7 separate regions of the Homo sapiens genome follow, and all the other regions are linked to region 5. The links are contacts of gene promoters, found by promoter capture Hi-C in blood cells and fetal thymus (Javierre and others, 2016). All regions are on one chromosome and are shown on one strand. The core of a region is centred on a gene start or on the middle of the fragment in contact, and the rest is flanking DNA. Distances in the headings are between cores, read along the strand shown. Region 1 holds the start of TSTD1 (thiosulfate sulfurtransferase like domain containing 1). Region 2 holds the start of KLHDC9 (kelch domain containing 9). Region 3 overlaps LOC112543491 (linc-UFC1). Region 4 overlaps PEA15 (proliferation and apoptosis adaptor protein 15). Region 5 holds the start of SLAMF1 (signaling lymphocytic activation molecule family member 1). Region 6 overlaps F11R (F11 receptor). Region 7 holds the start of ATP1A4 (ATPase Na+/K+ transporting subunit alpha 4).

Region 1 (2,805 bases), core at 1-2,500, 390 kb after region 5:
GGAGTGAACGGAGTTCAGGAAGCGAGACCGTGGGCGCTGAGGAAGGGGCGCGACAGCCTTCAGGAAGAGGGGGCCTAGGAGTCACGGCCGCCATGGCATCCCCTCACCTGGCAGCGCCCCTCCCGGTAGGGTGTGCACGAAGACCCCTCAGCCACGCCCCTTCGCTCCGCCACCCCACTCCCTGCCACGCCTCAACCCAGAGGACCAAGAGAACCGCGGCCCCAGGAATCCCCCGCAGGTACCTCCAGCCATGGTGCGCGTAGCAACCGCGAGTCTCCGGAGTGCGGCCCTGGCCCGCCCTCTCGGCGCCTGCAACATCTCCCGTTCCCTCCCAGAGCTGAGACCGGATCCGGAAGCAAGGGCACCGCCTCCCGCGCCGCCCCCGCAGCACCTGTTCGCGGCGCCTCTAGCACCAACCCACCGCAGAAGCCCTTAACATTCTCTAGCTTGGGCCAAAAACGACACACCGGTCTGGCCCAGGAACCAGGACTCCGGGTAATAAATGCAGGAGCAGCACCCCACCCTGAACTTGGCACAGCCCTTACTGGTCGAAGAGCAATGTGCCCCTCCCTTCCAGCCCGTGGCCCACAAAAGGAAGAAAAACAGACAACTGTGGCTTTGAACAATTTTATCTTAAAAAAAAAAAAAAAAAAAAAAAAAAAAGAAAAGAAAAAAAAAAAACGACCCCCACAAGGGGGAAGGCCCCAAGTGGGCCCCTGCCTGTTGTTCTCTCTGGCTCCAGAGATGTCTGCATAGGCCTCAGCTTCTCACTGGCCAATCTCCTCTTCATGGGCACCAGCCACTGCTAAACATCCTTCCCTCACTTCTTGTGTAAGCTTGCTCCCCTGAGCCACAGGTTGCACATCTAAACCTCAGCTCCAGGGAAAGGAAGAACCAATGGAAGTGCCAGAGTCCTGGGGCAAGCCAGAGCATCACCTGTCAGCAAACCTCTGCTGGGCACTCTAAGCAAGCACAGGACAAGCCCCAGAGTTTAGTGTGTCCAGTATCCAGCATGGAGACAGCACATGCATTGTGCGAGAGGAGCACAAGGGCCCAGGGGCTGCATGGTGGGGGTGGGCAAGGCTGTCAGTGCACGTCCACATTGTGTGTTTCACACCACTGCAGGCCGCCATATCACAGGGCCTCAGTTCAAGGACACACCTTCTGAACTTCCCCCTGTCCCATGCCAGAAGTGGGGCAGTGAAGGAAAGGGGCACGGGATTAGGCTGTTGCTCCTGGGCTATCTGCAGTTCTTGGGCCCAAAGCCCCTGAATCCCCATAGTTAGTTGCTGTCATTCTTGATGACGACCTCTAATCCGTGGTGCCGCAACTGAGCTCGAAGCAGCAGATTCTTGTTTTTAAGATCTTCCACCTGACATGGGAAGGAGGCAGTAAAGGGAATGGGTAGTAAAGCTGGCACTTCCAAGCCCCTGAATGTATTCAGACATCCACTGGTGAGGGGGAAAAGATGAAGCCTTCTCCATGGAGAACAAAGTAGAGGGTGTCAAACTGGGTCAGTGGCTAGCAGAACTGAGAAGGGCTGCACTGGGGGTAGGAGTCTGACCTGTTGTCGAAGCACGTCATTGTCCAGCTGCAGTTGGTCAAGTCCCTGCAGTTCTTCAGACAAGCGGTGGTTACTCTGCCGAAGCTCCTGGATATAATCACAAGCTTTGGATAGAATCCCACCTTTACTCTGCAAGATAAGGTCAACAAAATGAGAACTAGGATTTCAGATACCCAGCTTGCTTTCCAAAAGTAGGTTCACACTTTGGACCTCATTTTCATCTAAGGAAGGTGGTATAATATCTCCCAGGGATACAGGAACCTCAGGGAGAGATAAGACTACTGTCATGTGTGCCCCTCTCTCTACCATTTCTGGAAACAATACCAGGAGGCAGAATTCAGGCATCCTGCCCACTACCAGGGTCTTTCCATGACCTGGCCAGACTTGGTGCTCTCCATAGAGCAGTCTGGGATTATCTTGGAGAGCTGCACGATCCAGTTGTTGATCTTGTCTCGGCGGCGACGCTCCACTGTGGGGCAAAGTGGAGGACAAGGTGACTCAGTGAAAACTCGCCACAAGTCCCAGGGTAAAATTACCTAATCCCTCCTCCCCTCAGACATCACTGCTGAGATCACACCAGACAGCTTCTAGCTCCACCCAGATCATACCTACCTTCATTATGCTGAGCCCTGCGTTTCTCATCCCGAGTCGTCCGGGGAGCTTCTGACTTCCTGACAACAGAGCCCAGGGTGGCCAGAGTAAGAAGACAAAATACATGATTGAAGTTTGGGGTTAAGGAATTATACAAGATTTAGCAGGTATTAGGACCACTTATGGTAGCTAGGTGTGGTGTCTCACACCTGTAATCCCAGCACTTTGGGAGGCCGAGGCAGGCGGATCACTTGAGGTCAGGAGTTCGAGACCAGCCTGGCCAACATGGTGAAACCCTGTCTCTACTAAAGATACAAAAATTAGCCAGGGGTGGTGGTACATGTCTGTAGTTCCAGCTACTCAGGAGGCTGAGGCATGAGAAACGCTTGAACCCTGGAAGCAGAGGTTGCAGTGAGCTGAGATCATGCCACTGCACTCCAGCCTGGGTGACAGAGCAAGACTCTGTCTCAAAAAAAAAAAAAAAAAAAAAAAACCACTTACGGAATCTGAGAAGAAACAAGGGTCACTCACGGGGAATAAGGGTGAGTCCTAGGGGCAATTGAGCGCTGGCTTCCTCCCTGCAGTACTTCTTGTGGTGACATCATCACAAAGAATTGACCTGTGAAGATGCAGGGTAGGTTCTGTCAGGA
Region 2 (2,871 bases), core at 317-2,816, 450 kb after region 5:
GTATGACAGATCTGAATCCAGCTGTTGGGAGGTTAGCCAGTGAGAAAGAAGCCTGAGGGAAAAGACTGACTTTTAAATTTCAGCCAAGGACAGTAAAAGTTAGTGATTTTTTAGAGATTCTTACCATGATTTTGGAAAACTGAGAATACTGCCTGTCATACTCAGGGAAAGCTATAGTTGGGAGGGCAGAGACTTTCAAAGCTATTGTTGAATCTTGGCTTTAAGGTACAGGTGGGGAACAGGTCCTGGTAATCTTCCAATCTCTGTAACTGTGCCTTTCCTGCCCATGCCATCCCCATGCTGTGTTCTCTGAGGACCAAGAGTTGGGAAGAGGAGGGGAAAGCCCTGCTGTGCTATCAGACCCTGCATTACATGCCCATCCTCACTGCAGCCCTGGCCACTGTCTCCTTTCTTCCTTTCTTTATTTCTTTTCTTTTTTTCTTTCTTTCTTTCGCCAGGGTCTCACTATGTTACCCAGGCTGGTCTTGAACTCCTGAACTCCTGGCCTCAAGTGATTCTCCTGCCTGGCCACTTTCTATGGTCTCAGTATCTCAGGTATGATGGGGAGCAAGGTGATGTGTAGAAACCAAAGGCCACAAGTAGCAGTCATCATTCCCACTTACAGCCCAGTCCCAGAGGACACAGATCCTGTTTTTGCCCCACACCAGCTGTGTTGGGAGGAAAATTCTGTCTGTATTTCCTCCTTCAGCTGAAAGCAGAAAGCTTGCATCTGGGCCTCTTCAGTTATCACTTGGTCCTGGGGGACAGAGTTAATATCTGGAAACTGGCTTAAATAAAAGATATCAGGGAAGGGTAGGAGTCTGTTTTTCTCATTTTCTCACTCTTCCCCCACTTCACCCTTCTAAGGCTGCGTGGGTTCTCTCTCTCTCTCTATCTCTCTCTCTCTCTCTCTCTCTCTCTCTCTCTCTCTCTCTCTCTCTCTGTGTGTGTGTGTGTGTGTGTGTGTGTGTGTGTGTGTGTGTCACCTGAGAGACTGGGTTCTGCTACCCTCTAGTGGCCAGAGCTGAAAGGACTCTCCCACCCAATCAATCGGGACCTTCAAGCCTTTGGGAATAAACGAACAGCCTATTTGATGAATGACAAAACTGAGAAGGCCTAGAGAGAAACAATGCCTTTGAGGGTCAGGGGCATAGTTGGGACTAGAACCCAGGTCTCCTGTCTCTCGGGCCAGTGGTCAGTCCACTTTCACTTCCCCACCCTCTGACTTTTGCTTCTCCTTCCTTGCTCATCCCTGGGGTGGTTAGCCCGAGTAAGAAACCCTGAAGCCAAATGATCCCTCCCGGCCCTAGTGGAGCAGCACCTGCACCTCAAATGTCAAAATCGCAAATCAGTTCACAGCGGAGATCACAGGGGTTTATTCTAAGGACCCGACTGTCCTCCGACTTTCTGAGGTTAACAATCTTGCAGGATTTTTATTGACCTGATACAGCTCCCGTAGCCTTGGTGGCACCACCATACGGTTCCCGATAGCCACCCAGGTGTCCTGTCTCCACGGTAACTGCTGCTTTGCGACCTTCGGTTTGCAGCGGTCGCGCTGCAGCCGCTGCAGTGGTTGCTGGGCGACCACGGAGAGAAAGCCGGGACTTGAGGTGGGAACCCCGGCTGGCGTCCGGTAGGGGGAGGTTCCCGGGGAAGCCCGCGGAAGGCGAGGTGCCTGGCCTGCCATGTAGGGGCTCGTTCCAAGCCGCAGACCCCACCGCCCTCCCTCTCCCCGGGGCCCATGGCGGTGGCCGTGCCCCCGGGTCGGGCCGCAGGCTCAGGCTGGGCCTGGAGGCCAGTGGCGCGGGACGCGCTTTTGGCTAGAGCTTTCCATTCATGCACCGAACTGCGGGGACGGTTCTATCTCGTAGGTGGTCTCCTAGCAGGAGGAGCGAGAGAGCCCAGCAGCGATACGGTGGTTTTCGACCCAGCTAGGGGCCAGGCCGTACGATTGGGAGCCCGGGGCAGCCCCCCGCGCAGTCACCACGACGCGGCACCCGTGGACGGGCGTTGGCTCTGCGTGGTGGGCGGCTGGGACGGGTCTCGCCGCTTGGCCACAGTGACCGCACTGGACACAGAGCGCGGTGTGTGGGAGGCGTGGACAGGGACCCCTGGTGACTGCCCCCCCGCCGGCCTCAGTAGTCACACCTGCACCCGAATCTCTGACCGAGAGCTGCAGGTGGCTGGCCGGGAGGGCGGTATCCACACTCAGCGACGCTATGGAAGCATCTACACATTAAGGCTGGACCCCAGCGCCCGCACCTATTGGTATGGCACCCTCCGCCCAAAACCTTTCACTCTCATCCACACTCTCGAAAAACAAAAGCCTAAGCAGATTTCTCAGGCAATTTATCCACCTCCTCACTCTAGCACCCTCCTTCCAGGGGAACCTACCATGTTTAAGCTAGCTGAGCTCTCTACAGTATTACCCTCCCTCTTATCCCACCTACCGCACTGCCCCATGCCTCTTCTCCATCCATCCTTGGCAAGGGCGGTGGCACTTACATTTTCCAGAAAACCCACTCAGCCCTGAATTTCTGCATGTCCACAGCTACAAGCAAGAAGGCTGCCACACAGCCTCACGCTCAGGTCACTGTGCGGCCCTGCTCCAAACTCCTGGACCCCATCCAGGTCATCAGCTATTGCTCTTTGGAGGTTGCAACTTAGCTGAACCAGAAGTAGCTGGGCATTGGAGTCATGGGAAAATTAAGGTATTAGCTCCTCACACATCTTGTTTAGGATGGGAAGAGGCTAAAATTGTGATGCCCAGGTCTCTTCGGACAGTCCTTTCTTTCTCCCCAAGGAGGAACCACCTGTTGCTCCTCATTTGATGGAACAGCTTGCAAGGCTTGTGAGCAGTGGGCAGGGGTC
Region 3 (2,700 bases), core at 48-2,547, 490 kb after region 5:
CAAGTAGAAAAAGAGCTCTTGGAGAATCTTTGAAAAGGAACAGCGAGTGAAGAAGAAGAAAACCTGGGAGATAATTGTCACAGAATCAAAGGGAAGAGTATTTCAAGGGGGTGGATGTTGAAAGTGTCAGATGTCCCCACAGAGGCAGCTGATAGGAAAGGTGCTCTTACCTCTGAACCTAGGTTTCTTGGAAGCTTGGCACAAGAGTCAAATCCAGATCTTGAACCTTTCCCCAAGTATCACTGGGCAGTACAACCCCCAGGCTATTCTGCCCTTATGCATCATGGCTGCCAGTCCCAGTCTTTCAGTGAGTCTTCAAGTCAACACCAGCCAGTGCTGGCACCATCAATCTTACTACACTTAATAATGATACCCTGGCTGGGTGTGGTGGCTCACACCTGTAATCCCAATACTTTGGCCAGGAGTTCAAGATCAGCCTGGGCAACATAGTGAGAGACCCCATTTCTACAAAATTTTTTTTTAATTAGGTGGGTGTGCACTTGCCTGTAGTCCCAGCTATTTGGGAGGCTGAGGTGGGAGGATCACCTGAGACTGAGGAGTTTGAGGTTGCAGTGAGTCCTGATGGCACCATTGCACTCCAACCTGAGTGACATAGCGAGACCCTGTTTCAAAAAAAAAGAAGAAGAATGCTACCCTCTCCCAGTCCTTACTATGGCCCTGAAGCTGCCATCAACAAAAACCTGTTTTTCTAGAAATGGTGAAATTAAGGAATTGAAAGTGGGAGTATTCGTTGGAGTTGGAGGTCAGGAACTAACTGTATTTTTCATGGGTTTTTGTAAAACCTCCCAGGATGATAGTAAGAGTTGGCACAAAAAGAGGTTAATAGGTGCTGAAGGCTGGGTTTGGAGGATCACTTGAGCCCAGGAGTTTGAGGCTGCAGTGAGCTATGATTATTGCCACTGCACTACAAAAAGAAAAAGAAAAAAAAAAGGTGTTAAAGGGCAGTAAAGCCAGATGGCATAAGCTTCAAAGGGAGAAGAATTTTTGCAAGAGGATGGAAGCACAGTGGTCTAAAAGTAGCAGTGGGTAGCAAAGAGAAAGCTGATACCTTGCCACGCCTTCCTACAGGAGCAAGAATAAACAGCCTGTAGAAGGTTGAAGGGAAAAGGTGTTCATTAATTGGGGAAAGTAAAAAATTTCTACCTCACCTCTGACCATTTTTTCCTCTATACCCACTGGAACACTTTTCTTTTGTAAACAATCTCCCTTATGTATTCATTGTCTTCGTAGATTGCTCCTTAGCTTTTCCTAGAGGAATAGCCATCAGGACAGAGGTAGCTGTGATGTGTGGAATGCAGATGTAATCCACATAAGCCCGCAAAAAAGACAGACACAGGCACTACTTCTTAAAGGAGAATAATATTCTCCCTCCGTATCCATATTCTGAAGTGGTTTGACACTCAGTAGTCTTGGCACCATGATGGTAATTCCTTTCCATGAACCCACCTCTCCTCTCCAAACCTAACCCAATTCCATTCAGAGGATTAGAGAAAGCTGAGGATTGCCTTTTCTAGTCATAGTATGATGTCCAGTCTGCTTATTGCAACCAATGGGGAAGAGAACAGATCACTTTCTTCACTGAGAATGGAAAGCTTAGCCAGGCACGGTGGCTCATGCCTGTAATCCCAGCACTTTGGGAGGCTGAGGCAGGAGGATCACTTGAGGTCAGGAGTTCGAGACCAGCCTGGCCAACATGTTGAAACGCCATCTCTACTAAAAAATAAACAAATTAGCTGGGTGTGGTGGCATGCACTTGTAATCCCAGCTACTCGGGAGTCTGAGGCAGGAGAATTGCTTGAACCTGAGAGGTGGAAGTTGCAGTAAGCCAAGATCACGCCACTGTACTCCAGCCTGGGCAACAGAATTGAACTCTGTCTCAAAAAAAAAGAATGGAAAGGTGAAGGAAGGGCTGAGATTTGCCTTCATTAGGCCTTCCAAAGTAATCTGTCTTCCCCTGCAGGACTCACAGAACTCAGTTCTTTTCCCTGGGGCCAGACTTCAATGACCAAATTTTCCAAATTCCAAACATTGGGACAGTTGCCTGGCCAGCTGTTCCTAAACTAGTCAGTTTATTTGGAGGGATATTTTCTGCTTGGGGAGCCCTGGAAGTTCACTCTTTCAACATGAAGTCCTAAGATCGTAACGCCAACAAAGAGAGCTGTGCAGATTTCCTGAGCTAAGCCAAAGGGACCTCCTGTGTAGAGATGGGCACCCTCATGTCCATCACTGAGAAAAAAATATTTCAAACAGTTTAGAGTTTTTTGTTAGCTATAGCTAGACTGCTGTTCCTCCTTAGCTTAAACTATACATCATCTGTACAGTTAAAACAAAAACTTCATCTCTTGCCTTATGAACCACCCTCTCCTTAATTCAACTAAAAACTTGGGGGAACTTCCTCTGAGAAGATTGAGAACCCTGTGTAGAATTCTCTTGCGGAAGTCCTCTGCTTGTTATGTTTCTTCCTTTACATTAGTTCCTGTCTCTTCCTCAGCTGAGAAAACATCCCTCCAGCTTTCAAAGACTGGCCCCTTCAGCTCTATCCTGATGCCCATCCTTTTCTACTTATCAAAACACTACTCCCACAGTTACCTCTTCCTTCACTGGAATCTGTAACCTGGAACCCTTCAGCTATCCACAGGCTCACATTTCCACTGTGTCCTTAACTGTAGTTTTCAACTC
Region 4 (2,700 bases), core at 189-2,688, 440 kb before region 5:
GCGGCGGCGGCAGAAGCGGCGGCGGCGGCGGCGGGAGCCGAGGAGGAGGTTCCGGACGCTGCTTAGGAACCGGGGACTCAGGAGTGCCCGCGCCCTGAGCGCTCAGCTCCAGAGGCGGTGAGAGGGGCGGAGAGGAGACATGTCGCGGGGAAGGGGCAGATTTCGGGGTCTAGGCTTGGAGGGGCAACGATCTGGGACACCGGGGGCCAGACGGGGAGTGTGGGGACCCCGGACGAGTCCACTTTGTGTCAGGCCTCACGGGGTCCGTCCCTCGGTCGGTGCGTCCCGAGCGCCGAGCGTGTGCTGGAGGCGGCGTGGCTCCGGCCAGCCCGTTCCACGCTGAACGGCAGTTTGGGAGTCGGACCGGGGCCTGTGGATTAGGATGCAGCCTGCTTCCCGCCCAGCCGGCTCGGCCAGGCCAGCGCCCGCCCCTCCCTCCCCGCTCAGGCTTCGGACTCGCCTCCGCTGGCGGTCTCCCGGCCCAGCCCTGTCTCGGTTCCGCGGGCGGCTGGTACCATGTGCCCTCACCCCCAGCTCACTGCACCTGGGGAAGAGGTGGGCTTGGCGGAAAGCTTGTCCAGAGGGAAGGAGGAGCTGGGGGTGTAGAGAAGTGATGTATATCTAACGTAAAAACCCTTATTAATTTCATATAATCCGTGTCAAAACTGACAGGGAAACACGCACACCTATAAGGCACGCCAGCACACACAGTGACACACACCCATGTGACTTATACACATAGTCTAGCACACTCCAAATCACAAACGTCCCTGGACTACGCATCCGGCCGCCCACCACACCCCCACTCTGTGGGGTGGGGCATCCCATGAGGAGTCTTCTGAACTGCGGGCTCCAAGTCATCAGTCCGACAGGACAGCTGAGTGGACAGAAAGGGCCACTGTCCCCAAATCCATCCTGATTTTCTGGCAGCTTTTCCCAGCCCCATGGTTTCAGATTGTTCCTCTTTAAAACTGTGGGGAAAGATGGGAGAAAATCTTGGTCTCATTCCTCTAACACAAGGAGACAGGATTTTGCGGACTAATGAGGGTAGGGGCTTCTGGTGGCTTCTCTTCCTGGGTCCAGTTAGGGCTTAGCGTGCTGGGAGTGGCTAGTTTCTGGGTAAGAGTGGCCAAGGGATGGAGGAGGAGGGGGTGGAAGAAACGGAGAGGAAAAAGAATGGGTATGAGTCAGCCAAGAATGGAACCCAAGTCAGAGAGAGAATGAGAGGAATGTGTGTGAGAAGCAGACAGACATCTCCAGAGAGGTCTAGAGATAGTCAGGGAACCAGGGAGAGGGAGGAAGTGAGAGAAAGAGATGGTCAGAGAAGTGCAAACAGTGTTTGAGAGTGCACTAAACAAATTAGGGAGGATGAAGGTTGGGGGAGACCACTGGGAGTTAGGGAAAGTGGTACGTGTGTCTGGGCCCCAGGCTGTCAGAGCGATTAGCTTTAATTGCTCTTCCCTTTGTGGTTAAATACTCCATTGGGGAAATTGCCAGTGATGCCCTAGGCTGCAGGCTTCCCTGGTTGCCTACTTCCTCAATTCCGTGCCCATCATGTGTGGATGTATTATCATGCATGAAGAGGGTCACAGAATCACAGAGCGCCTCACTCTCTCACACAGATCCTCACGCACAATGTCATGATGGATATCTTCACCAGCTGGTAGGCAGCCAACCACTGAATCTCCAAGCCACTCCGACCAAACTTACTCTGTCTTTTGTAGCAGGGATGCTCACCCCTTCCTAATTGCAGCTCCGAATATTCAGATGGGGACAGTGAAGCACAGATCTCAGGAGTCCTAAGTATTCATGGCTACCACTAAGTTGGATAGGTGAGTAGGAAATGCTAGAAGGGGTGAAAGCCTATAGAAAGGAGGAAAAGAGAGACTGAAAGATGAAGTAGAAAGGAAATGCATGACAAAGAGTGAGAGAGATGGAGAGAGACAGAAATAGAAGCAGGGAGTGCCACACCAGAAGAGTGGAAACAGAGATGGGCTGGGGAGAGTCCTAGGCCCCATTCCCCTCCTCGCCATCAGCCGGCCCTCCTCTGCTCTGCCTGATCCAGTGCCAGCTATCTCCTGATGCCCCATCTTGGGTCTGGCTCTTTCTAGACCAAGGGCTGAAGGCTAATCCTTGTCCCCATGCCCAAAGGTAATCCATTTTGCTTCTTGGACTGAAGTGAACATTTTAGGGCCCAGATGTCCTGCCTCTCGTCACTTCCAGGCTGACCCTGGAGCCTCAGAACCCTCAATTTCCTTGTTACAGGAGTAAAGACAACCCCCTCCTCCCCCACAAAGCTGGATAAAAAGCTTAAAGAAGAAATTAATTGAGAATGATATTAAAGGAAATAAACTACAGGACTGCTTGAATTTGGGGCCCAGTTATAATTTAAAATAGGAAAGCTGGACCCCTACTCTCTCCCTTCCAACCCCTCTGCCTCTCCGTGATTACTTCCAACTTCAGGCAGAAGACTGACAGACTTGAGTGCCTGGGAGTCCCCTCCTGCCCAATACAGGGACCTCTAGGTCCTTGCAGCTGTCTGGGATGGCCCCTCCCCTCAGGCTTAGGCAGCTGCAACAGATGTGGAAGAGGGACGGGCAGCAACTCTTAATCTTCAGGCTTCCTTCTCGAATTTACAGAGGATTTGGAACCAAACGTTAGAAGGGATAATCTACCACGACTTAATGTCAAAATGCACAG
Region 5 (2,899 bases), core at 250-2,749:
AAAAGTCCAGTTCACAGTTCAGCACCATCACTCCATCACACCTTACAGTCACCAAGAGGTGCTCCAGAAATGGTGCAGTCACAAATTGGTTGCAACAACGGAGGCTTGGCTTTCCCTGTGACCACTTAAAGTGGCTCGATTTGGTTTTCTGAGCCCCGAGCTCAGTTCTTCCTCCCCTAGACCTTGGGAAGTACGAGCCATGGATCTGCAGATTCCAAAAGAAAGTGGGCTGAGCAAGCCCTGTTCGTCTGGCTGTCTGGTAAAAGACACATCCATTGTGCAGCACCCCCACATCCCTGGCATATCACGGTGCTTTTCCTGGAAAAGTCCATATTGGATTTGCGGTCTTGAAAACCCCAAGCTTAAAACACCCTGGGCCTCAGGATTTCCCCCCGTGTCCGTAATGCCACCTCTTCTACTCCAGGCTACCTCCCACAGTCTAAACAAATAAGCAGAAGGAGATTCTCACCCCACTCACACAGGCAGTCCAAAGTCCACTTCTTGCTTGGCTTTTTCTTTCTCAAATACCTTTTCTCATAGCCCTGATACTTCTAAACAGAAAGCAATAGCCTGCCTTGGGAAGAAGATAGACAGAAAGACAGGAACAGAGTCCAGATCCAAAGGTAGCTCTTGTCTGGCCTTCCTGCTGGAGCTACTCTCTGAGGGTTCCCAATTTGCATTTCCCACATACTGTAACCAGCCCTAGCCTTCAGAAATCCCAACTTCTTCCCTCTTGCTTTCTTGGACCTTCTCTTCCAAGAAAATACACACCAGTATGACCGCACTGTGGCCACTGCTGGTTCTCAGCCAAAAGCCTGGAGTTTTCACTTCTACTCTCTCTTCCCACTCTAGCCAATGCTTTCTGTTGACCCATGCTCCTGGTTTGTCAGCCTGCATGTGCACAGATTCCCTCCCAGGGCAGGGATGTAGGGCAAATCTTCTCCCAGAGCTCAGTCCATCCAGCTCAGTCTCTCTAGGCTGGGTCTTTGCCAGAAGATGCCCATGTAAAACCAACCACTCAAGCAAGACTTCTACCAGGGCCTGTCACCCTAAGACTGGTCAGAAAAGTGACTGGAGCCTTTGGCTTAGAGCCCCTCATTTCCTTGGAAACTGGGGTTGGTGGGGCTGAGTCTTGGAAACCCAAGGGCCCAGGAACTTATAATGTTCCTTCCTCTTTGAAAGAGGCAGTTGAAACTGACAGCCAGTCCCTAAGGAAGAGTGACCAAACACAATACCCAGCCCTGCACCTTCTCTCCATCCACGAAGATACGCTGATTCCTGGCAGCTAACATGGGACTCAAACCATCAGGCAGATGAACACTCACCTGTTCCGTAGCTTGCCCCAAAAGCCAGGGAGAGAAACAGCACGAAGGTCAAGGAGAGGAGCCCCTTGGGATCCATCAGCCAATGAGGAGAAGGAAGGGATCCTGGCCGGAGCCTGGCAGCTGCTCACAGATGCCAGGCAGAAGCAAGCTTCGTGTCATGCAGCAGAGGCTGTCTGATTTATGTATCAGGAACCAGCAGGTTCCTGAACCCGCTTCCTGTATCACTGGGACTTTTTCTGCTTGTGTCTTGAGGATTGCTCATCTCCCATGAGGCTTTAAATCACTTTTTTGTTCTCAAGAAGCAGGCTTCTCAAGAAGCCAGGCACTTAGCCTATGGGAGCCAGGAAAGGGGGTGTGTAGTCACCTCGGCCAAAACCCGGCTTTGGGCAGAAACATGCGCCCCAGCTTCTTTCCTTAGCTGTCTCCAGGAACCGGATGTTGCAGATTCTCTGAGCAGTTCTCTCCGGTAAGTCTTCTTGGATTGCAAAGAAAAGATGTTTCATTGGATCACTCCTCAAATTTGGCAGTTCACAGCTGAACTTAGATAACTGCATTTTGATGAGCTAATAGACCTCTTACTTCTGTTTTATTTCATAATTTCAGATGACACCTCAACATGCAGTCTGGTGCAGGTGCCACTGTCACACAGAGATGGGAAGGGCATGTGCGGGTCACTTGGAAGAAACCCTGTGACCCCGATGAGTGCAATGTGGTATAATTTAGTAGCCCATGCTCCTAGTTTGTCTTCTTGCATGTGTGTGGATTCCCTCCCAGGCAGGGATGTAGGACAAATCTATCCCAGAGCTCCATCCTTCCAGCTCAGTCTCCTTGTTGTGTGTGTGTTTTCTCCTCTAATTTTTAACGTCTGTGGGTACATAGTAGATATACATATATGTGTGTGTGTGTGTGTGTGTGTGTGTGTGTGTGTGTGTGTGTGTATGTATATATATATGTATGGGGTATGCATATATTTGTATGGGGTATATGAGATATGTTGATAGAGGCATGCAATATGTAATAATCACACAGGGTAAATGGGATATCCATCACCTCAAATATTTATCCTTTGTGTTACAAACAGTGCAATTATATTTTTATTTTTAAATGTGCAATTAAATTATTATTGACTATAGTCACACTGTTGTATTATCAAATACTAGTTCTTATTCATTCTTTCTATTTTTTTGTACCCATTAACCATCCCCACTTCTTCCCCAACCCCCACTACCCTTCAGCCTCTGGTAACCATCCTTCTACTCTCTATGCCCACAAGTTCAATTGTTTTAATTTTTACCTCTCACAAGCAAGTGAGAACGTGCAAAGTTTGTCTGTCTGTGCCTGGCTTATTTCACGTAACATAATGATCTTCAATTCCATCCATGTCATTGTGAATGACAGGATCTAATTCTTTTTTAGCTGAATAGTACTTCATTGTGTATATGTACCACATTTTCTTTATCCACTCATCGGTGATAGACGCTTAGGTCGCTTCCAACCTTGGCTATTGTGAATAGTGCTGTAATAAACATGGGAGTACAGATATCTCTTCAATATACTGATTTCTTTTCTTTTAG
Region 6 (2,876 bases), core at 118-2,617, 360 kb after region 5:
TCTACTGTTGCAATTTACCCTCTAGCAATACAAAACTACTTAAAATTCCTAGCAAAGTCTGGGCTGTTTCACAATCTCTGCCTTTGCTCATGCTATTTCTGCTATGTAGAACACCCTTTTCCCCCTCTTTATCTGGGCAGCAGTATTCATCCACATTATTTTCTGGAAAACGACCTCCCACATGCCCAGTCCTCACCATAGCCTCACCTAAGCCTCTTTCCTAGGCTTTAATTATCCCATGCAAAACACTGTCAAAGCAATTCCCACATTATAATGACATCATCTGTGTACAAGCATGTCTCCCATGGTAAACCCCAAGTGAAAAGGGACCATGTGTTATTTAATATTCTGAGTATCCCACACTTAGCATAATAAAACTGGTACAAGTTGACATTCAATAAATGTTTTCTCAGCCTGGGCAACACAGTGAGACCCCCATCTGTACCAAAAAAAAAAAAAAATTAATCAGCTGCAGTCATGCACGCCCATGAACGCCTATAACACTGAGGATGTAATTCCTGGAAATTACTACGTACCTGAATAATAATAATGAAACAACTGTGGCAAATAGTATTTTCCAAAACAGCCACATCTATCTATATATTTATCTCCTCCCCCATGCTCTACTTACATTGTGACTGAGGTGGAGTCTAAGTTAAGTTTCCTCCCCATGGGCCGGGTGCGGTGGCTCACGCCTATAATCCCAGCACTTTGGGAGGCCGATGTGGGTGGATTGCTTGAGGTCAGAAGTTTAAGACCAGCCGGGCCAACATGATAAAAATTACAAAAATTAGCCAGGCATGGTGCATACCTGTAGTCCCAGCTACTTGGGAGGCTGGAGAACCACTTGAGCCCAGGAGGTGGAGGCTGCAGTGAGCTGATATGGTGCCACTGTACTTAGTCTGGATGACAGAGCAAGACTCTGTCTCAAAAAAAAAGTTTCCTCCCCATGAATCTGGGAGGGTCTTATGATTGACAATGGCATAATGGTAGAAGTGGCATATTATTAATGTTAGGCCTTATATGCATTTTCTCACTAAACTCTTAAAAAAAAAAAAAACCTATGAGACAAGTACCATTGAAGATTGAAGTACTACCGTTACCATTTCATTTTACAGATGAAAAAACTGAGGCTTAGAACAGTTGACCCAGGCCAGGCATAGTGGCTCACACGTGTAATCCCAGAACTTTGAGAGTCCGAAGCAAGCGGATCACAAGGTCAGGAGTTCGAGACTAGCCTGGCCAACGTGGTGAAACCCCGTCTCTACTAAAAATACAAAAATTAGCTGGGCATGGTGGCAGGCGCCTGTAATCCCAGCGACTCAGGAGGCTAAGGCAGGAGAATTGCTTGAAGCCGAGAGGGGGAGGTTGCATTGAGCTGAGATTAAGCCACTGCACTCCAGCCTGGGTGACAGAGCGAGACTCCATCAAAAAAAAAAAAAAAACAGTTGATCCAAACCATATGGCTACAAATAGCAAGGTAGGAATCTTAACTCTGCCTGATTTTGAGGCTCTAAAACTATTATGCTATATGTAGCTTTATTGGACAAGCAAGGAAATCCCATGTATCTTTCAAGATCCTGTTCAAATGTCTATTGATCTCTTATACCTTTCCTCAGTCAAAATTAATCTCACCCCAATTTCTAGGAATATAGCCTAAGAAAGCAATCAAAGATAAGTTTAAATATTTTGGCTGGGTGCAGTGGCTCACGCCTGTAATCCCAGCACTTCGGGAGGCTGAGGCGGACGGATCACTTGAGGCCAGGAGTTTGAGACCAACCTGACCAAAATGGTGAAACCCCATCTGTACCAAAAATATAAAAATTAGCTGGGCGTGGTGGCAGGCACCTGAATCCCAGCTACTTGGTAGGCTGAGGCTTGAACCTGGGAGGTGGAGGTTGCAGTGAGCTGAGATTACGCCACTGCACTCCAGTCTGGGCGATAGAGTGGGACTCCATCTTAAAAAAAAAAAAAAAAAAAAAAATTCATGTACAAGAACAATTTAACGTTATTTAGGTTTCATTGTTCGTTTTTTTTGGAAACTGAGTCTTGCTCTGTCGCCCAGGCTGGAGTGCAGTGGCGCGATTGTGGCTCATGGCAACTTCCACCTCCCAGGTTCAAGAGATTCTCCTGCCTCAGCCTCTCCAGTAGCTGGGATTACAGGCACACACCACCATACCCAGCTAATTTTTGTACTTTTGATAGACACGGGGTTTCACCACATTGGCCAGGCTGGTCTCAAACTCCTGGCCTCAAGTGATCCGTCCGCCCCAGCCTCCCAAAGTGCTGGGATTACAGGCATGAACCACCATGCCCAGCCAATTTAATGTTATTTAGTATAACAAAGAAAAAAAAGAAATCTAAATGCCCAACAAAAGGTGAATAAGTAAATTATGATATAGCCATACTTTAGGAATAATGTAGAAAGGACCTTAAAGTATATTTTGGGCCAGGCGCGGTGGCTCACACCTGTAATCTCAACACTGAGAGGCCGAGACAGGTGGTCAGGAGTTCAGGACCAGCCTGGCCAAGATGGTGAAACCCCATCTCTACTAAAAATACAAAAAAATTAGCCAGGCGTAGTGGTGGGCACCTGTAATCCCAGCTACTTGGGAGGCTGAGGCAGAGAATTGCTGGAGCCCAGGAAGTGGAGGTTGCAGTGAGCTGAGATTGTGCCACTGCACTCCAACCTGGGTGACAGAGCGAGATTCCACCTCAAAAAAAAAAAAAAAGTATATTTTGTAGGAAATATAGACGTATCTCACACATTAATTCATAAAGACTAGAATGAAACACCAGTAATAAGTGTTTATCTCTAGATAATAGAATTACATGTGATTTTATTTTCTCCATAGTCCTTTGCATTTTCCTATTTT
Region 7 (2,768 bases), core at 211-2,710, 500 kb before region 5:
TGCCTGTGGTCCCAGCTACTTGGGAGGCTGAGGTGGGAGGATCACTTGGACCTGGGAGGTTGAGGCTGGAGTAAGCCATAATCGCACCATTACACTCCAGCCTGGGCAACAAAGTGAGATCCTGTCTCAAAAAGTAAATAAACAAATATCAAACAACAGAATGGGAAAATCTATGTGACGTGCATAATTGAAAAATATATATAATGGTTGACAGAAAAGTATAGATGCTTCAGATTATTCTTGGAAGGAGGTAGAATCCTATGGACATGCAAAACATATATACAGTTAATATAGTCAAAGCACTTACTGAGACACCAGAGAAGGTCAATGGAAGAGGTAAGTACATCATTTTAAAATGAGAAAATGCAACGCTATCACATGGAAAAGCATATTTTTACCCTCACTGAGAAGAGCTGCATATTAATCCACAAATAAAACTACTACTGAATTCAAGCTACCTATTGAGCACATACTATATATGTCACATAGTGCTTTTTGTAGAGCACCTCACTTAAGGTAGAAGGTATCCTCTTTTAAAAATAAGAAAAGAGAGGTACAGAGGTTAGGTAACTTGCTCAAAGCCACACAGCTGACAAGTGGAGGAGTTGGGATTGAAATCCAGGACTGGTTCCAGAGCCCAAGATCTGATCTATTCTGCTAGCTGATCTCCTAAAATTAAAAGATCAAACCCAATGTTAGTGGAAAAGTGTGCCTTGCTAAAAAACACACACAGAGTACCTGCTTTTTTTTTTTTTTTGAGATGGAGTCTCAAAAACAGACGGGAGAATATTAGTCCAAACTGCAACTGCACCATTTTGTAAGCTCCCTGCTATGGTTTTTTGTTTGTTTGTTTGTTTGTTTGTTTGTTTGTTTGTTTGTCTGAGATGGAGTCACTCTGTCACCGAGGCTGGAGTGCAGTGATGCAATCTCAATTCACTGCAACCTCTGCCTTCTGGATTCAGATGTTTCTCCTGCCTCAGCCTCCCGAGCAGCTGGGATTACAGGTGCCCACCACCACACCTGGCTAAATTTTGTATTTTTAGTAGAGATGGGGTTTCACCATACTGGCCACGAAGGTCTCGATCTCAGCCTCCCAAAGTGCTGGGATTACAGGCATGAGCCACCGCGCCCGGCCGAATACCCGCTTTATTTTTGAGTCATCTATTTGGCATACCTCTAAGCCTCCAAAGTCTGCAGGACCACACAAGAACTTTGTTCTAGTTCTGCCCTCAGACTGAAACTCTTTCTGTAGCAGGGCCTGCTCCAATCGTCCTCAAACCCAAAGACTGAGACTTCTAGGTTCTTGGTTAAAACCTTCATGAGGCCTTTGCGACAGCAGACCTGGACCATCGCCAAGGCAAGACTTCTGGATTCTTGGTTAGAACTTTCAGGAGGCCTTTGTGATGCCAGACCTGGGTCATTGCCCCAGCAACCACAGGGCCTGGGACTGGGGGGTTCCCAGATCCTTGAAGCTCACTCCGCCTCCTCACTCTCACTGCATTTCCCACCTTCCTGTGGGCCTTGCGGCATCTTCATCACTGAGGCACCTGGTTACGCTTCACCTCTTGTTTCCTGCCCTCACTGCATTCCCTCACCTCTACCTTTTTATCCTTCCACCCTAGGCTTCTCTCCTCCCTCTTCCCTCACTCCTGACTCTTCCTCTTCCCAGCGGACGGCTGGAGGACCGCTCAGTCTCTCCTCTCTCACTTCCCTTCCTCTCTCTCACCTTCACCACCCAACACCTCCCTCCCTGCCTCTTTCTTTCTGCTCCCTCATTCTCTCCCCACCACTCTCTTCTCGTGGCCCCCTTGCCCGCGCGCCCTCTTCCCTTCCCCTTGCCTCACTCTCTCAGCTTTCTTCCCACAGTTGAGCTCGGGCAGCTCTTTCTGGGGATAGCTATGGGGCTTTGGGGGAAGAAAGGGACAGTGGCTCCCCATGACCAGAGTCCAAGACGAAGACCTAAAAAAGGGCTTATCAAGAAAAAAATGGTGAAGAGGGAAAAACAGAAGCGCAATATGGAGGAACTGAAGAAGGAAGTGGTCATGGTGAGGCCACCCAAAGTGGGCGCTGACAGCTGCCCTCTGAAAACACTCCTCCACCTATCTTTAACATCTTACCTTGAGAATGAAACACACAGGCCAGAGCCACATCTCTTCTCTGTTAGGCTTTGGAGGGAAGGAGAGGGTTAAAAAAAAAAAAAAAGATACACACAGAGAGACAGGGCAGCTCAACAGCAAGCACAGGTATATTGCAGACACCTGTGGAAGTGGGGGATCAGCTTAATTCCACAGTCCACTGCCACTTACAGGCTGGGTACTTATAGGGATGGATGGGAGGAGTCTGGGCTGTATGGCCTGCTGCCTGGCAGGATATCGATAAGATGTTCTCATGATGAGGTGATTTTTGGCCCTTGTTTCCACAGAATATAATCATGGTATTCCCTGGACCTTTGCCCAGCAGGATGTGATAGGGATGTTTCTTTAGTGGGGTCTTTGTCTTTAATTGGGCCTTCGTCTGCCCTGTGGTCAGGTGGTTAGGCAGGCTGTTTCTCTGGCCCGAACCCCCGTGAAATGTTTCACTTTGACCAAGGCCTGTAAAATAGTGGGGAGCTAGGCCGGGCGTGGTGGCTCACACCTGTAATCCCAGCACTTTGGGAGGCTGAGGCAGGCAGATCACCTGAGGTCAGGAGTTTGAGACAAGCCTGGCCAACATGGTGAAACCCCGCCTCTAAAAATACAAAAATTAGCTGGTCCTGGTGATGGGCCCCT

What was found. Contacts are between HindIII fragments. The CHiCAGO score rates a contact against its expected background, and 5 or more counts as called.
Region 1: a fragment that was not itself captured here is called in contact with the fragment with the promoter of SLAMF1 in region 5 in 4 of 17 cell types (fetal thymus, non-activated CD4 T cells, activated CD4 T cells and 1 more); the score reaches 8.0 in fetal thymus.
Region 2: a contact is called between the fragment with the promoter of KLHDC9 here and the fragment with the promoter of SLAMF1 in region 5, in 1 of 17 cell types (non-activated CD4 T cells). The highest score is 5.4, in non-activated CD4 T cells.
Region 3: a contact is called between a fragment that was not itself captured here and the fragment with the promoter of SLAMF1 in region 5, in 2 of 17 cell types (fetal thymus and activated CD4 T cells). The highest score is 7.3, in fetal thymus.
Region 4: a fragment that was not itself captured here is called in contact with the fragment with the promoter of SLAMF1 in region 5 in 2 of 17 cell types (fetal thymus and total B cells); the score reaches 5.6 in fetal thymus.
Region 6: a fragment that was not itself captured here is called in contact with the fragment with the promoter of SLAMF1 in region 5 in 6 of 17 cell types (non-activated CD4 T cells, total CD8 T cells, total B cells and 3 more); the score reaches 7.9 in non-activated CD4 T cells.
Region 7: a contact is called between the fragment with the promoter of ATP1A4 here and the fragment with the promoter of SLAMF1 in region 5, in 7 of 17 cell types (M2 macrophages, erythroblasts, M0 macrophages and 4 more). The highest score is 11.2, in M2 macrophages.

The regions. Positions count from the first base shown.
Region 1 is chr1:161,038,638-161,041,442 of GRCh38, forward strand. It overlaps TSTD1 (thiosulfate sulfurtransferase like domain containing 1), which reads right to left and starts at 327. Exons shown (of 4, transcript NM_001113207.2): 1 at 243-327; 2 at 1-36. The coding sequence starts at 252. It overlaps USF1 (upstream transcription factor 1), which reads right to left. Exons shown (of 11, transcript NM_007122.5): 7 at 2,687-2,774; 8 at 2,177-2,235; 9 at 1,939-2,033; 10 at 1,565-1,693; 11 at 614-1,372. The coding sequence ends at 1,283. RefSeq lists an enhancer at 256-305. The HindIII fragment of the contact is 832 bases long and covers 835-1,666 here.
Region 2 is chr1:161,096,795-161,099,665 of GRCh38, forward strand. KLHDC9 (kelch domain containing 9) reads left to right here and starts at 1,567. Exons shown (of 4, transcript NM_152366.5): 1 at 1,567-2,268; 2 at 2,552-2,711; 3 at 2,804-2,871. The coding sequence starts at 1,742. RefSeq lists silencers at 1,701-1,880, 1,941-1,990. The HindIII fragment of the contact is 8,697 bases long and covers 722-2,871 here.
Region 3 is chr1:161,136,044-161,138,743 of GRCh38, forward strand. It overlaps LOC112543491 (linc-UFC1), which reads left to right. Exons shown (of 1, transcript NR_156734.1): 1 at 1-1,899. Among named protein-coding and RNA genes, the nearest start is that of DEDD, 4.7 kb to the left of the region's middle. The HindIII fragment of the contact is 628 bases long and covers 984-1,611 here.
Region 4 is chr1:160,205,406-160,208,105 of GRCh38, forward strand. PEA15 (proliferation and apoptosis adaptor protein 15) reads left to right here. Exons shown (of 4, transcript NM_003768.5): 1 at 1-117. It overlaps PEA15-AS1 (PEA15 antisense RNA 1), which reads right to left. Exons shown (of 5, transcript NR_123725.1): 3 at 1-971. Among named protein-coding and RNA genes, the nearest start is that of PEA15, 1.4 kb to the left of the region's middle. RefSeq lists a silencer at 1-94. The HindIII fragment of the contact is 1,737 bases long and covers 571-2,307 here.
Region 5 is chr1:160,645,545-160,648,443 of GRCh38, forward strand. It overlaps SLAMF1 (signaling lymphocytic activation molecule family member 1), which reads right to left and starts at 1,500. Exons shown (of 7, transcript NM_003037.5): 1 at 1,326-1,500. The coding sequence starts at 1,401. It overlaps LOC107985220 (a long non-coding RNA gene), which reads left to right and starts at 1,465. Exons shown (of 2, transcript XR_001738266.2): 1 at 1,465-1,791; 2 at 1,929-2,899. RefSeq lists enhancers at 1,332-1,541, 1,582-1,631. The HindIII fragment of the contact is 11,196 bases long and covers 1,472-2,899 here.
Region 6 is chr1:161,009,013-161,011,888 of GRCh38, forward strand. The region is part of intron 1 of F11R (F11 receptor); the gene reads right to left. Among named protein-coding and RNA genes, the nearest start is that of F11R, 11 kb to the right of the region's middle. The HindIII fragment of the contact is 3,097 bases long and covers 1-2,876 here.
Region 7 is chr1:160,150,143-160,152,910 of GRCh38, forward strand. ATP1A4 (ATPase Na+/K+ transporting subunit alpha 4) reads left to right here and starts at 1,461. Exons shown (of 22, transcript NM_144699.4): 1 at 1,461-2,045. The coding sequence starts at 1,899. The HindIII fragment of the contact is 4,407 bases long and covers 1-2,768 here.